Regions from separate parts of the Homo sapiens genome. Here region 2 is linked to region 1. The links are contacts of gene promoters, found by promoter capture Hi-C in human tissues and cell types (Jung and others, 2019). All regions are on one chromosome and are shown on one strand. Each heading gives the region's core, a stretch centred on a gene start or on the middle of the fragment in contact. The rest is flanking DNA. Distances are from core to core; before and after follow the strand shown. Region 1 holds the start of AGTPBP1 (ATP/GTP binding carboxypeptidase 1). Region 2 has its middle 8.5 kb from the start of NTRK2.

What was found. Contacts are between HindIII fragments. The study calls those that stand out against the background at their distance.
Region 2: a fragment that was not itself captured here is called in contact with the fragment with the promoter of AGTPBP1 in region 1 in 1 of the 25 tissues and cell types used here (dorsolateral prefrontal cortex).

Annotation. Positions count from the first base shown.
Region 1 is chr9:85,738,766-85,745,347 of GRCh38, reverse strand. AGTPBP1 (ATP/GTP binding carboxypeptidase 1) reads left to right here and starts at 3,394. Exons shown (of 26, transcript NM_001330701.2): 1 at 3,394-3,573. RefSeq lists silencers at 3,071-3,670, 3,741-4,060 and an enhancer at 4,231-4,380. The HindIII fragment of the contact is 2,695 bases long and covers 2,240-4,934 here.
Region 2 is chr9:84,657,964-84,664,545 of GRCh38, reverse strand. No RefSeq gene overlaps it. Among named protein-coding and RNA genes, the nearest start is that of NTRK2, 8.5 kb to the left of the region's middle. The HindIII fragment of the contact is 3,178 bases long and covers 1,450-4,627 here.

The DNA.
Region 1 (6,582 bases), core at 2,145-4,644:
GACCAGCTATGTTTCAGAAACCTCATGATCAATCATGCTCTCCTAACATTTATGTTCTAGATGGAAATTGCTGTAGACTTTTTGAGAGGTCCATGGCTGTTCTAAGCCTTATGACTATAGAGTTTTGTAATACAGTGTGTTGCATTTTGTACGTTACCTTATTAAAAGCATGGAGATAAGGTGATCCGCAGAAGAGGAGAAAGAGATAGCTGGGCTCCAATGTTCACCTCTCTCTCCCCATGACTAGTCCAAAAATGAAACAGGAAAACATTTACTGAGTACCTACAAGGCTGGACTGAATAGAGGAATCCAAGTTAAATGAATTCCATTATATAGTCCAACTCTGATCTATATCAGCCATTCACATTTAGTTTTATATATCATAATAAGGTTTATTGAAGAAGCTGTGGAAAGAGTGACCAATAGAAATTAGCTCTGTGTTTTGTATGGTTCAAAGTAGAGAGATAAAAGTATGATTTCATGAATCACATTGAAAGGCGTCAGCCAGCTTGCTTTAGGCAGATAGTAAGCAAAGGGTCCCCAGAGAAGCTCCCACCCATGTTTCGTACAGATAAGGGAACTTACACAGGGGTCTTGCCTAAACATGCCTACAGTGGACTAAGGGCCCGCGTGCACACTGGGGGAATGGGGTGGAGCCACCAGGAATTTGCGCCTTACACAAATAGGGAACCTGGCCCCATCAGCTTGCATGTAAAAGCCCCTGCATTCAACTGTGAAGCGGGCAACTGGGAACCTGCTTTCAGGATCCTTCTCTTTGCTGAGAGCTTTCCTTTTGCTTAACAAATTCTACTTCACTCACTCTTCAAGTGTCCGTGTACCTGATTTTTCCTGGTCTTGAGACAAGAACCTGGATCTAGCTGAGCTAAGGAGGAAACAATCCTGGATCAACATGGTTTATTGCCATGTGAAGATAATTTATTTTCTTAGGTTCACAATGTATAGAGGCAGAGAATTAAGAGAATAATTTCACAGGGAATACACTCCATAGATGATGTTTATTAACTACATAGTGAGTGAGTTCCAAAACTATTAAAACCTAGTTGTTCAATTAAGATTGAAGCAGACCTCTGTGGAAAGTAAAGTCTGATTAAGGATTGAGGTGGGTGTGGTATTAATGCCTGTAATCTCAGCATTTTGGGAGGCTAAGGCAGGAGGACTGCTGAGCCCAGGAGTTTGAGACCAGCCTGGGTGACTTAGGGAGACCCCGACTCTACAAAAACAATTAAAAAAATTAGCCAGGTGTGGTGACGTGTGCCTGTAGTCCCAGATACTCAGTGGGAGGCTGAGGTAGTACGATTCATTAAGCCTGGGAGGTCAAGGCTGCAGTGAGCCATGATTGCACTACTGTATTACAGCCTTGGCAACAGAGTGAGAGTCTTGTCTCAAAAAAAAAAAAAAAAGAAAGAAAAAGAAAAAGAAAAAGAAAAACAACTGAGGTGTACCTTTACCTTTTGGAGGCTGAGGTTCTCGGGAGAGATGGTGTCCAACATACAGGAGATCGGTGAGGATATGCAAGGTCCCACGATGCTAGAGGGCTGTGCCAGTGTTGGTGGACAGGCTTCAAAGCTTAAAGGCTAACAGGGTGTGGCCCTGTTGCAGCCTGAGCTGGTAGCGTTCAGGGAAGTGGCTGACAGAGCACGCGATCTGCCACCCGCTGAGCTCTCAAAGTATCTTGCAAATTCTTGAGTTTATATGTATTTCGAAATCCTGTAGTTGAGGTCAGTAACATATATATGGTGTTTGATAAGGTGTAACGTCACATTAGCTAGGAGAGGTGAAGTTTATTTCAACTTCATACACGTGGGATCTGATGAAGAGTGATGTCACATTCCCAGGGGGTGGGGGAGTAGCTCTAAGTTCTTAATTACCGCAAAACATAAATCACTCACTCTTGTGGCAAACTATGTGATTGGAATCATTTCAAAGCTATGTAATGCTGCTATTTATCTTGTGTGGGTTAATCTCCTGGGTCTGTGTTGTGGTCATCAAACTATGCTAACAGTGCTTGTGAAAGTGGGATTCAAATTCCACAAACACACACATCCACATAATATCTTCCTATATTGCAGGTTGACTCATTTAGAAACATGTTCTTTAAGAAAAGTTTCAGGTATATTACATACATATTTAGCATTATTGTAAAATTATTACATTATTATTGGGTATTTTCAGATAATACGTTTCTGATTGGGTGGTTTGGGGTGGTGGTTGTTTCAAAATTATTTTAAATACCGTAACCTATCTTTTAGTGCTCACGATGAGGGAAACTACGATGTTTATAAAATGGCAGTTTCTTGTTCATCTGAATAAAGACATCTACCAAGGGCAAACTGTAAGAAGCACTGTGGTGTACCTTGGGTTACTTTTTGAATTGCTTTCACACCTGCTTAATTTTATTTGAACAAGATCATAAAACAAAACAAAAATCTCACAGTTCTCAATGCATTCCCTTATCTAGTTGTGATATTACATTCCTTACCATAAACAGTAGCAAACATGTTCTTGTGCAACGTGAAAAAGTAAATGATGTCAGTATTTATTTGCAATACATTGCAGTACACTGAAGTACAGTCAAAACAGAAGGGGGTGTATTAGTAATTTCTCTGACACATTACTTTGGCTCAGATAAAACATTCCGCCTTTGCCTTCAGTAGCCAACTTAGCATTACCGTTTTGATTATATGCAGGCACTTTTTCAAAAAACAGTAAATCAGCATGCTATTTTGTTCGCTGCAGCACTAGGCATCTAATTTACTGAGATTTGGCCACAAGGTGCAATCCTGTTGTTTTCTGGGAGCCCGATTGTAGTAACAGCATGTCCCTTCCAGCCTCTTATTATGGACCCTCCTTGAGGTCAGGAAAGGTCTAAGCTTTACCGCAGTCCCCAGCGTTTGATGCGACCCCGGGATCACGTGGGGAGCTTTAAGAACCCTTCCTAAGAAAGTGACTGATTGATGGCGGGGGAGGGGGTGGGCGCGGGCTTAGTTCCGGGAAAAGGCTGGGGCCCTCGTTGGGAGTGTACAGAAAGATGACTTGAAGAACGTGGGGAGTCGCTCGCAGTTCGGTACGGAGGGGCGGTGGCCGGGGCTGCTGGGTACAAGGGACCGGCAGCGCGCGGAACACCCGCCCCTAATTCCCGCTCCCGTGCGCGCTCCGCCCCCACGCGCGCGCTCCCTCCCGTCAGGCGCGCAGAGAGGCGGGGCGCAGCGCGCACGGAGGTAACAAGGGACGCGGCGGGAAGAGGGCGTGCGCTCCGCCCCGCCCCTTTCGCGGCCTCGCACGCCCCGCCCCCACTCCCTGCGCGTGCTGGGAGCCGGCTGGCAAGGCGTGCGGTGGGCGGGGCGCCGCGCTGACGTTGCCCGGGATGCGGACAGGTTCCGCCGCCTCCAGCGCCGCCGCCGCAGCTGCCGCCGCCGCCGCCTCCGCCTCGCCTGCCACCGGGGTTTGTATGAAAACACCGGGCGGCGGGCGGCGAGGGATCCGCCGTGATCCAGGTGCTGAGCCGGGTGCTGCGGCTCTGCGCGGTCCCCGCCAGCGCCCCATCCTGAGCCGGTGAGCGCCCTGCTGCAGTCCTCATGTCCCGGCCGGCCGTCCCTCTGCTCTCCCCGGGCCGCGGGAGATGCGAGCGACGGCGCCCGGGGGTAGGAGGGGCGACCCCGGATCCCTGCGCCCCTTACCTGACGGGTTGTGTAACGCATGTTACACATGTGACGCGTGAGGGGAACGCACTCGGTCTTGAGGGAAAGCCCTGACGGGGTGGGGCTTTGACTGGGTCTGGAAAACGCCTTCCCCAGTCCCCGGACCCTCGGTGGATCCCCGTCCCAGACCTTGCGGAGGGTATCGGGCGCGGTCTCTGGGCGGAGGCCGCCCTTTCTGCTCAGCCCTTTCTCTCGGGCCCGAGCTCGCGGCGCCGCGGGGAGTCCAGCCGAGGGGCTGCAGGGCCGGGGGCGGGCGCGCCCAGCCCCGCTCTCCCCCGCCCCAGTGGTAGCGGGCCGCTGAATCGCGGGCCCCTGTGCTTCGAGAATTCTAGCGTTCCCGACTGAGCGCCAGCAAGGTGGGATTTGCTGTGACATCGGCGATGGGCACGTTTGCTTCCTCTCGCTGGGTGGTTTGAGCTGAAGTGTGTCTTCTGTTTACAACTTGTCGCCTTGAGCGTTTGGTTTGAACCTGAATCAGATCACCCTGGATGACAGTGCAGAGTTTCCTTAGTGTCTTCCTTCCTGAATTGCGGGTTCTCAATTGCAAGTGTTCAAGGACTGTTGTAACCCAAAGGCTTGCTCGACTCTACCGTTGTTTTACCCCTTGTGCGGTATAAACCTCTTACGAGCACCAGGGCAATTGGAGTTGGTTGGGTTCCTTTCTTGGGCGTTTACTCATTGTAGAATGGAGTTTTCATGCATCATAGTGTAATCGATGTGAATGTTGATAATTTAAAGCCCATTTCCCGTTTTAACATAGCTTACTCAAGTGCCTGAAGATAGCGGAAATTTTCTTTGGCAGTATTAATTCTATGTGGGTTTTTTCCTTCAGGTGTTTAACATTGTAGTTGTGTTTAATTACAATGCATGACAATTTGTAGTTAGAAAGGACCTTAACAGTCTTCTTAATCGGTCATTTTCACTTACCTTTTATGTCCGTTTTTTAAGCTTTATGTAAATCAAATTATCCTTTGTGAACTTCTGAATTATTCTTATAAACTGGTTGTCTGAGAAAACCGGAAAGTTATTTTTGTAATTGTATTGTGGAATGTTTTTAGTTCAGTAGGCCAAAAAAGAAATGATTTATTTAAGGAACTTTAAATGGTGCTTATTTTAAAACATGTGCCAAATGTCAAAACCAAACAAAACTCTGAAAGATCTGTATTTCCTATGTAGAATTACTGCGAAATAATAAGTCGTGCCTTACCCACTGTTTCTCATCATGCAGGCAGAGTTCTAATATGACTTGCTCTTTTTCCCATTCCACTTCTCTTAAGTTAAATTCTATGGTGAAGTTACAGGTTCATTTTTAATGATCACAAAACTCTGCCTTGAATTGATTAATCACATAATTACAACTGCAGACTCACTCTGAACTCGGAAATGAAGTGGATAGGCTTAAAACTACCCTCGTATTTGGCCAACATTGCAAAGCATTTAAATCTATTAATTAAACTTTTGTAGAAGCAATTTTTATAAAGCTTTTCCGAATTGAGGCATTCTTCTCTTTAGAAAAGTCTGGCTAGGCTGCTATATAATAATGGTTTTACTTCCATTAGCAGAAGGAAAAGAGGTCCAACAGTTATGAAATTTTGTAATTTGTATTTTACTTTTTTTTTTTTTTTGAGACGGAGTCTCACTCTCTCGCCCAGGCTAGAGTGCCAGTGGTGCGATCTCGGCTCACTGCAACCTGCCCCTACCGGGTTCAAGCGATTCTCCCGCCTCAGCTTCTTGATTATAGGCGCGCGTCACCACGCCTAGCTAATTTTTGTGTTTTTAGTAGAGACGGGTTTCACCATGTTGGCCAGGCTGGTATCGAACTCCCAACCTCAGGTGATCCACTAGCCTCAGCTTCTTAAGGTGCAGGGATTACAGGCGTGAGCCACCAAGCTTGGCCTGAATTTTTTTTTTTTTTTTTTTGAGACGGAGTTTCGCTCTTGTCGCCCAGGCTGGAGTGCAGTGGCACGATCTTGGCTCACTACAGCCTCTGCCTCCCGGGTTCAAGCGATTCTCCTGCCTCAGCCTCCCGAATAGCTGGGATTACAGGAGCACACCACCACGCCCGGCTAAGTTTTTGTTTTTAGTAGAGACGGGGTTTCACCATGTTACCCAAGCTCGTCTTGAACTCCTGACCTCAGGTGGTCTGCCCACCTCGGCCTCCCAAAGTCCTGGGATTACAGGCGTCCGCCACCACGCCCGTCCTGGCCTGAATTTTTTTAAACCTCATCCAAAGTATTCATCTTCCCAAATCTGCTTTTCTTGCTTGAAGTCCCCCACTATCTGAAAGTTGAACAGTGCGTGAATAGCAATGGATGCACCTGTCAGAGGGCCATCTGCAAGATGGGAGCTTTCCTTAGGCAATGGGTTTCAGTATAAACAACATAAATTTTGTAGGGTGGGCACTGAATTTTAAACTTCAGATGTTATTGTTGATTACTGTGCCTGTGTACTATGGTGTAGTGGCTAAGGAGTTGGGCCTCAGAGCCAGATGGCTCGGTTTGGGTCCTGGCTTTGCTTTAGGCAAGTTATTTTTATTTTTATTTTTTTAAGACAAGTTATTTGTCCTTTTTGTACTTTAATTTTCTCAGCTCCAAAAATGACATAATATTAGTGTATACTCTTAAGATATTCTCAAATATTAAGTGATTAATACAAGTAAAGTGCTTAGCCCACAGTGCCTGGCATGTAGTAAGTGCCCAGTAAATATTGCTATTATTACCGTTGCTCTTCCTCAGTCTTCAAAGGGATCTAGTAAGCAGAAAAAGGACTTTTGGGGGATGGAGCAGTATTAGTGCAGATTAATTCCACTATGACCCATTTGCTCCTTTGGGGTTAAATGAGAGCTTAGTCTCACTGTCCTGCC
Region 2 (6,582 bases), core at 1,789-4,288, 1.1 Mb after region 1:
ATGCAAATTAAAACCACAATGAGATAGCTACACACTAATTGGAATGGCTAAAAATTTATTTATTTATTTATTTATTTAATTTATTTTTGAGATGGAGTCTCACTCTTTTGCCCAGGCCCGAGTGCAGTGGGGCAATCTCGGCTCACTGCAAGCTCCGCCTCCTGGGTTCACACCATTCTCCTGCCTCAGCCTCCCACGTAGCTGGGACTACAGGCATCCGCCACCGCACCCGGGCTAATTTTTTGTATTTTTAGTAAAGACCGGGTTTCACCGTGTTAGCCAGGATGGTCTCAATCTGCTGACCTCGTGATCCACCCATGGAATGGCTACAATTTTTAAAAACTGACCATACCAAGTGTTGACCAGAATGTGGAGCAACTGGAACTCTCATACACTGCTACTGGGAGTGTAAAATTGTATGGCCACTTTGGAAATGCAGAAGTTTCTTCAAAAGTTAAACGTATACTTACCAGGTGATCCAACCATTCTACTTCTATATACTTACCTAAAAGAAAGGAAAGCATATGTCCATACAAAGACTTGAACGTGAGTGTTCATAGCAGCTTTATCTTTATATGTAAAAACTGTAATAATCCAAATATTCATTGACAGGCGAATGAATACACAGATTGTGGCATACCCATACAACAGAATGCTACTCAGCAATGAAAAGAAATGAACAAAGCTTGCAGTCATATGCATGAATCTCAAAATAATTATGCTAAGTGAAAACATCAGATAAAAAGGAGTACATACTGTATGGGATCATAAAACTCAAGAAAATGCAACAAAAATGCAAAAAAAAAGTGCAAACAAATAGATTGTGACAGAAAATAACTCAGTGACTGCTGGCGAGGAAAGAGAGAAGTAGGCAGGGAGGAGCCAGAGGGAGCAATGACAAAGGACACAAGGAAACTTTATGATGATGGATGGATTGTGGTGATGGTTTCGATCTGATCAACTTATTAAATGTTTAGCTTATTAGCAATTATACCTCCATAAAGTTGTTTCTAAAAACAAAAGAGAAATGCTGACCTAGATCCTCCAATCATCAACTTCTTGTTCTGCTGGAGTTCCTTTAGAACCTCCAATTTTAGAATGCTATTATAAAGTTTGGAGATTTTTAAATAAACTCAGATTCTGTAATGTTCTAGTTTTAGAAGTACCTACTCTGTAATTTCTTTTACACTTTGAAAAAGTCTGGGGAAACCATAATTTAATAAATAGAAGACACAGTGGCCCATACCTAAAAATAGGACCTGAATGTCCATTAATAGTGGAACAAGTCAATAAATTATAATACAGTCACGTGTCCCATTATGATGCTTCCATCGACAATAGACTACATATACCATGGTGGGCCCATAAGATTATAATGGAGCTGAAAATTTTCTATCTTCTAGTGACATTGTAGCCATTTTAATATTGTAGTGCAAGGGATTACTCACCTGTTTGTGGTTAACATTGGAGTAAACAAACTTACTACACTGTCATTTGTATAAAAGTATAGTGTGTAAAATTATGTATAGTACATCTATAATTGTTGATAATGATAATAAATGACTATGTTACTGGTTTATGTATTTACTATACTTTAGCTTTTGTTGTTACTTTATAGTGTACTCCTTCTAATTTTTTTTGTTGTTTGTTTATTTGTTTGTTTTTTGAGACCGAGTCTCACTCTGTTGCCCAGGCTGGAGTGCAGTGGCCCATCTCAGCTCACTGCAACCTCCGCCTCCCGGGTTCAAGCGATTCCTCTGCCTCAGCCTCCCGAATAGCTGGGATTACAGGTGCGTGCTACCACACCTGGCTAATTTTTTGCATTTTAGTAGAGATGGGGTTTCACCGTGTTAGCCAGGATGGTCTTGATCTCCTGATCTCATGATCTGCCTGCCTCGGCCTCCCAAAGTGCTGGGATTATAGGTGTGAGCCACCATGTTTAGTGCCTTCTACTTACTAAAAAAAGAAGTCAACTGTAAAACCGCCTCAGGCAGATCCTTCAGGAAGTATTCCAGCAGAAAGCATTATCATCATCAGAGATGACATGAATGTTATTGCCCCTGAAGATCTTCCAGTGGGACAAGATGTGGAGTGGAAGACAGTGATATTGATGATCCTGACCCTCTCTAGGCTGAGGCTAATGTAGATGTTTGTGTGTTCGTTTTTAACAAAAAAGGTTTAAAAAATGATACATTTTAAAAATAGAAAAAAGCTTACAGAATAAGAATATAAAGAAAGCAAATATTTTTGTATAGCTGTACAAAAATGTATTTGTGTTTTAATCTAAGTGTTATTACAAAAGAGTCAAAAAGTTAAAAAATTAGAAAATGTATAAAGTAAAACAGAGGAAGCTAAGGTTAATATATTATTGTAGGAAAATGTTTTGTAAATGTAATGTAGCCTAAGTGTACAGTGTTTATAGGGTCTATAGTGGTGCACAGTAATGTCTTAGGCCCTCATATCCATTCACCACTCACTCACTGACTCACCCAGAACAACTTCCAGTCCTGCAAGCTCCATTCATGGTAAATGCCCTTTACAGGAGTACCATTTTTTATTTTTATACTCTCTTTTTACCGCACCTTTTCTGTGCTTAGATACGCACAATTGTGCCATAATTACTTATTATATTCAGTACAGCAACGTAGTGTACAGGTTTGTATCCTGGAAACAATAGGCCATAATGTATACTTGAGGTGTATAGTAGACTCTACCACCTAAGTTTGTGTAAGTGTACTCTGTGATGTTCACACAACGACAAAATCACCTGACATCTTTCTCAGAATGTGTCTCCATCATTAAGTGAATACAGATCTGTACTTCTATTCTTTACATCAGTACATGCCTAATTAAAGATGAGTTTTATAGGGCCGGGTGTGGTGGCTCATGCCTGTAGTCCCAGCACCTTGGGAGGCTGAGGCAGGCAGACCACGAGGTCAGGAGTTTGAGACCAGTCTGGCCAGCATGGAGAAACCCCGTCTCTACTAAAAATATATAATTAGCTGGGGATGGTGGCAGGCACCTGTAATCCCAGCTGCTCAGGAAGCTGAGGCAGGAGAATCGCTTGAAACCAGAAGGCAGAGGTTGCAGTGAGCCGAGATCGCACCACTGTACTCCAGCCTGGGCAACAAGAGCAAAACTCAGTCTCAAAAAAAAAAAAAAAAGAAAAAAAGAGTTTCATATAGATTGACTTGGAGGCATATCCACAATATATTAATAATGCATCTCACATGACAATATGTAGTCTGAGCCTACAAAGAAAGCCAGTATTTGTGAATATGTTTTGTTTGACTATGGAGAAAAACAGAGAAGTATTTACACCAAATCACGACATTAGTAACTTAGAGGAAATAGAGAGGTAGTTTGAGGTAAGAGGAGAAAAGACCAGGAAACCTGTGAATACTTATTTGGAACTTACAGCCTCCTTACCCATACCATGCCTAATTTTCCTCTTTGCGTTGCCTCTTCCCCTTTAGATCCGGTGTTATCCTATTTCTAGAGTCCTTCCCGTCAGTGGAAGGAACAGAATCTACAAGCATGTTCACAATCCAAATAATGTTCATCATCAGACACTTCATTTTCCCAAGAATGTCTGTATTTTAGTGGAGGACACTGGGAAAAAGATGTAATCCAAAGGAATTTCAGGTACCATGGCAACCATAAAAGAGGGAGTATTTGAGCATGGAGGACTCAACACAGGTCACATGGAACCAAAGGCTGATATTCATGATTAGCACCACACTTGCTCCCTGTCACCCCAACATCCTCTTTTGAAGTTTATACAGTTTCCTACTGTTTTCTACCTAACATCCTCCAACTCTGAGTAAAGGTCTCACTTTTCCCCACCTCTGCCTAAGATGGTCTGTGAACTGTATGCTACCTGGTCACTCTGAACCACAGCCAAACCCAAGGTTTCATCCCACTTCCTTTCTTCTCTGTGTCCAAATCTTCCACTTTTGTACTTTTAGTCATACACAGCACATACTAAGTCAACACAGACTTATAAAGTTTTTATGAACACCTAAAAGGAAGAGCATATGGAGAAAATTCAACAGAGCCTCAGAAAACTGGAGTCACGGGCATGTGGGTGATCCTTAAATCTAAGTTGCAGGCCATCCATCTGACGAGGTTTCGTGGTCAGCTCCGGATTATTTTCTTAGTTCATGTTGGTAGTCTAGGTCAATACCCATACCTGCTCCCGTGTTGTCCTGTTTTGTCAAGGTTTAACTATTATGGCTTAATCAATTACTTAATCCTGTTAATTGTCCCACAACCCCAGTGTCCATTCTCCCATTCTTCTCTTGAGTAATAGAACACTTGATCGCACCCAGTCAACAACTATATTTCCCAACTTCTTTTGAAGTAAAGGTGTGGCCATTTGACTAAGTTTTTACCAGAGAATTTAAGTGGAGGTGATGTGTACAATTTCAATATTATTTCTTTAGAAGAAAGTTATTTCTTTCCATTTCTTCTTGTCTTTCCTTTCTGCAGACTGGGAAGTCTATTACAGTACCACATCACAAAAGAACTTCAGTTGTTACAAAGAAGTTTACTTATGCTTCAATGAACAAGTATAGTATGATGTTTCAGTGCTACTCTGCCCATATTTATTGTGACAGTCAAGTGTTCCCAGTTCAACGCAATTGACAATCACAGTTCATGCAAAGAACAGTTTTATGGCCATGCACTTTTTAACTACATGGTGCCATGTACTTAAAGACCCACAAGCACTATATTATATCAGACCTCTGCAGGTGATTAACCAAATTGTTGCAGTCAAGCCCCAAATTGGGAATTAGCCCAGAAAAGTTCTGGGTTTCACTCATGAAAGAATTCAAGAACGAGTTGGTGGTAGAAGAAAACAGCTTTATTGAGGTGGCAATGTTACAGCTCCATGACTGCTCCTGCAGAGCAGGGTTACCCCAAAGGCAGCCTGTTAGAGAGTAACAGCTCAGGGGCGGGTCTACAATAATATATATACTCACTGTAATTACATGCAAATTAAGGGGCAGATTATGCAGACATTTCTAACAAAGAGTGGTAACTTCTGGGTCGGCAGGTCGTTGCTATGGAAATGAGTGTTAACATCTGAGTGTTGCCATGACAATGATAAACTGACATGGCATTGGTGGGTGTGTCTTATGGAGAGGCTCTTTGGCCTCTTCCCTATTTCAGCTAGTACTCAATCTCACCTGAAGTTCGAATCCTTACCTCTGGAGCCAAGTTCCACCTCCTACTTCAAAATGTTCTTCCAACTGGGGTAGCAACCCATTACTAAGTCAATTTAGTGGCTTTTATTAGGATATTTCTAACGGAATAGACTAGACAATGCTAGAATAGAAAACAGCAAAGGTATAAAGGCAACATTGTTTGATGAAACTTTATTATAGGTTGTACTGGATTTTGTTGTAAATGTATTTCTTATCGTGGTTCACAGTCAAGTTTGAAACCAACTGGCTGAGCACAACGTTTCAACCATTTGCAGGAATCTCCTTTACAAGGAGATACAGTTCCTAGTCTGGGCTTGAACACTTCCAGCAACTTTCCTTAATCAGGATATTAGAAATAAGCACTTTACAGATTATTACTGAAGTTAGCCATAAATTCTCTTACAGCCAAATAATTCTCTTATTTGTCATTATATCTAGCAGAGTATCATGTATGGAGCTCAATACATATTGGTTGAATTAAAGTTAATCTCAGCTGGGCATGGTGGCCCACGCCTGTAATTCCAGCACTTTTGGAGGCCAAGACAGGTGGATCATAAGGTCAAGAGATCGAGACCATCCTGGCCAACGTGGTGAAACCCCATCTGTACTAAAAATACAAAAATTAGCTGGGCATGGTGGCGCACGCCTGTAGTCCCAGCTAGTTGGGAGGCTGAGGCAGGAGAATCACTTGAACCTGGGAGGTGGAAGCAGTGAGCCGAGATCACGCCACTACACTCCAGCCTAGCCACAGAGCAAGACTCAATCTCAAATAAAGTTAAATTAAATTAAATTAAAAAGTTAATCTCATCTTTGTACACCATTAATTGCAAGAAAGTTCCATTTTATGGTAAGCCTAAATCTGCCTCTCTAAAAATGCTCCTCCGTTGATGCTAGTTTTAACCTCTCAGGGGCAAAGTAGAGAAAATGGAATCCTTTCTTCAAGTCTGCCATCCAACATTTTAACTGTTCCTCTTATATTTTTTTCACCTGCAGGTCTAATATATTTGCCTTTCATGCTTCTATTTAAGTCAGTGATAAAGAATATTTAACATGACAGGTCCAGACACTCAACTAAAAACGTTGCCTATGCTGACATCTATTTCTTAACTAATTAATTCATCCTTACATAGAAGGTGACTGTCTAACCAGCTAAGAATCCATCAAACTGAATTCTATGTCTTTCTTAACCCTTAGCCTGAGCCACCTATGCACCACATACCCAATTACATAAAGACCAAACTGGTATTGTCCATTAATATTTTGTTTTTATTTTGCTTTGTAGTCATTCTGAAGTTCATTTTTTGTGCCAACTTCAGACCTCATTCTAACCTGATGTCAACCTACCACCCGCATTTCAGCTTTTTAAACCTGT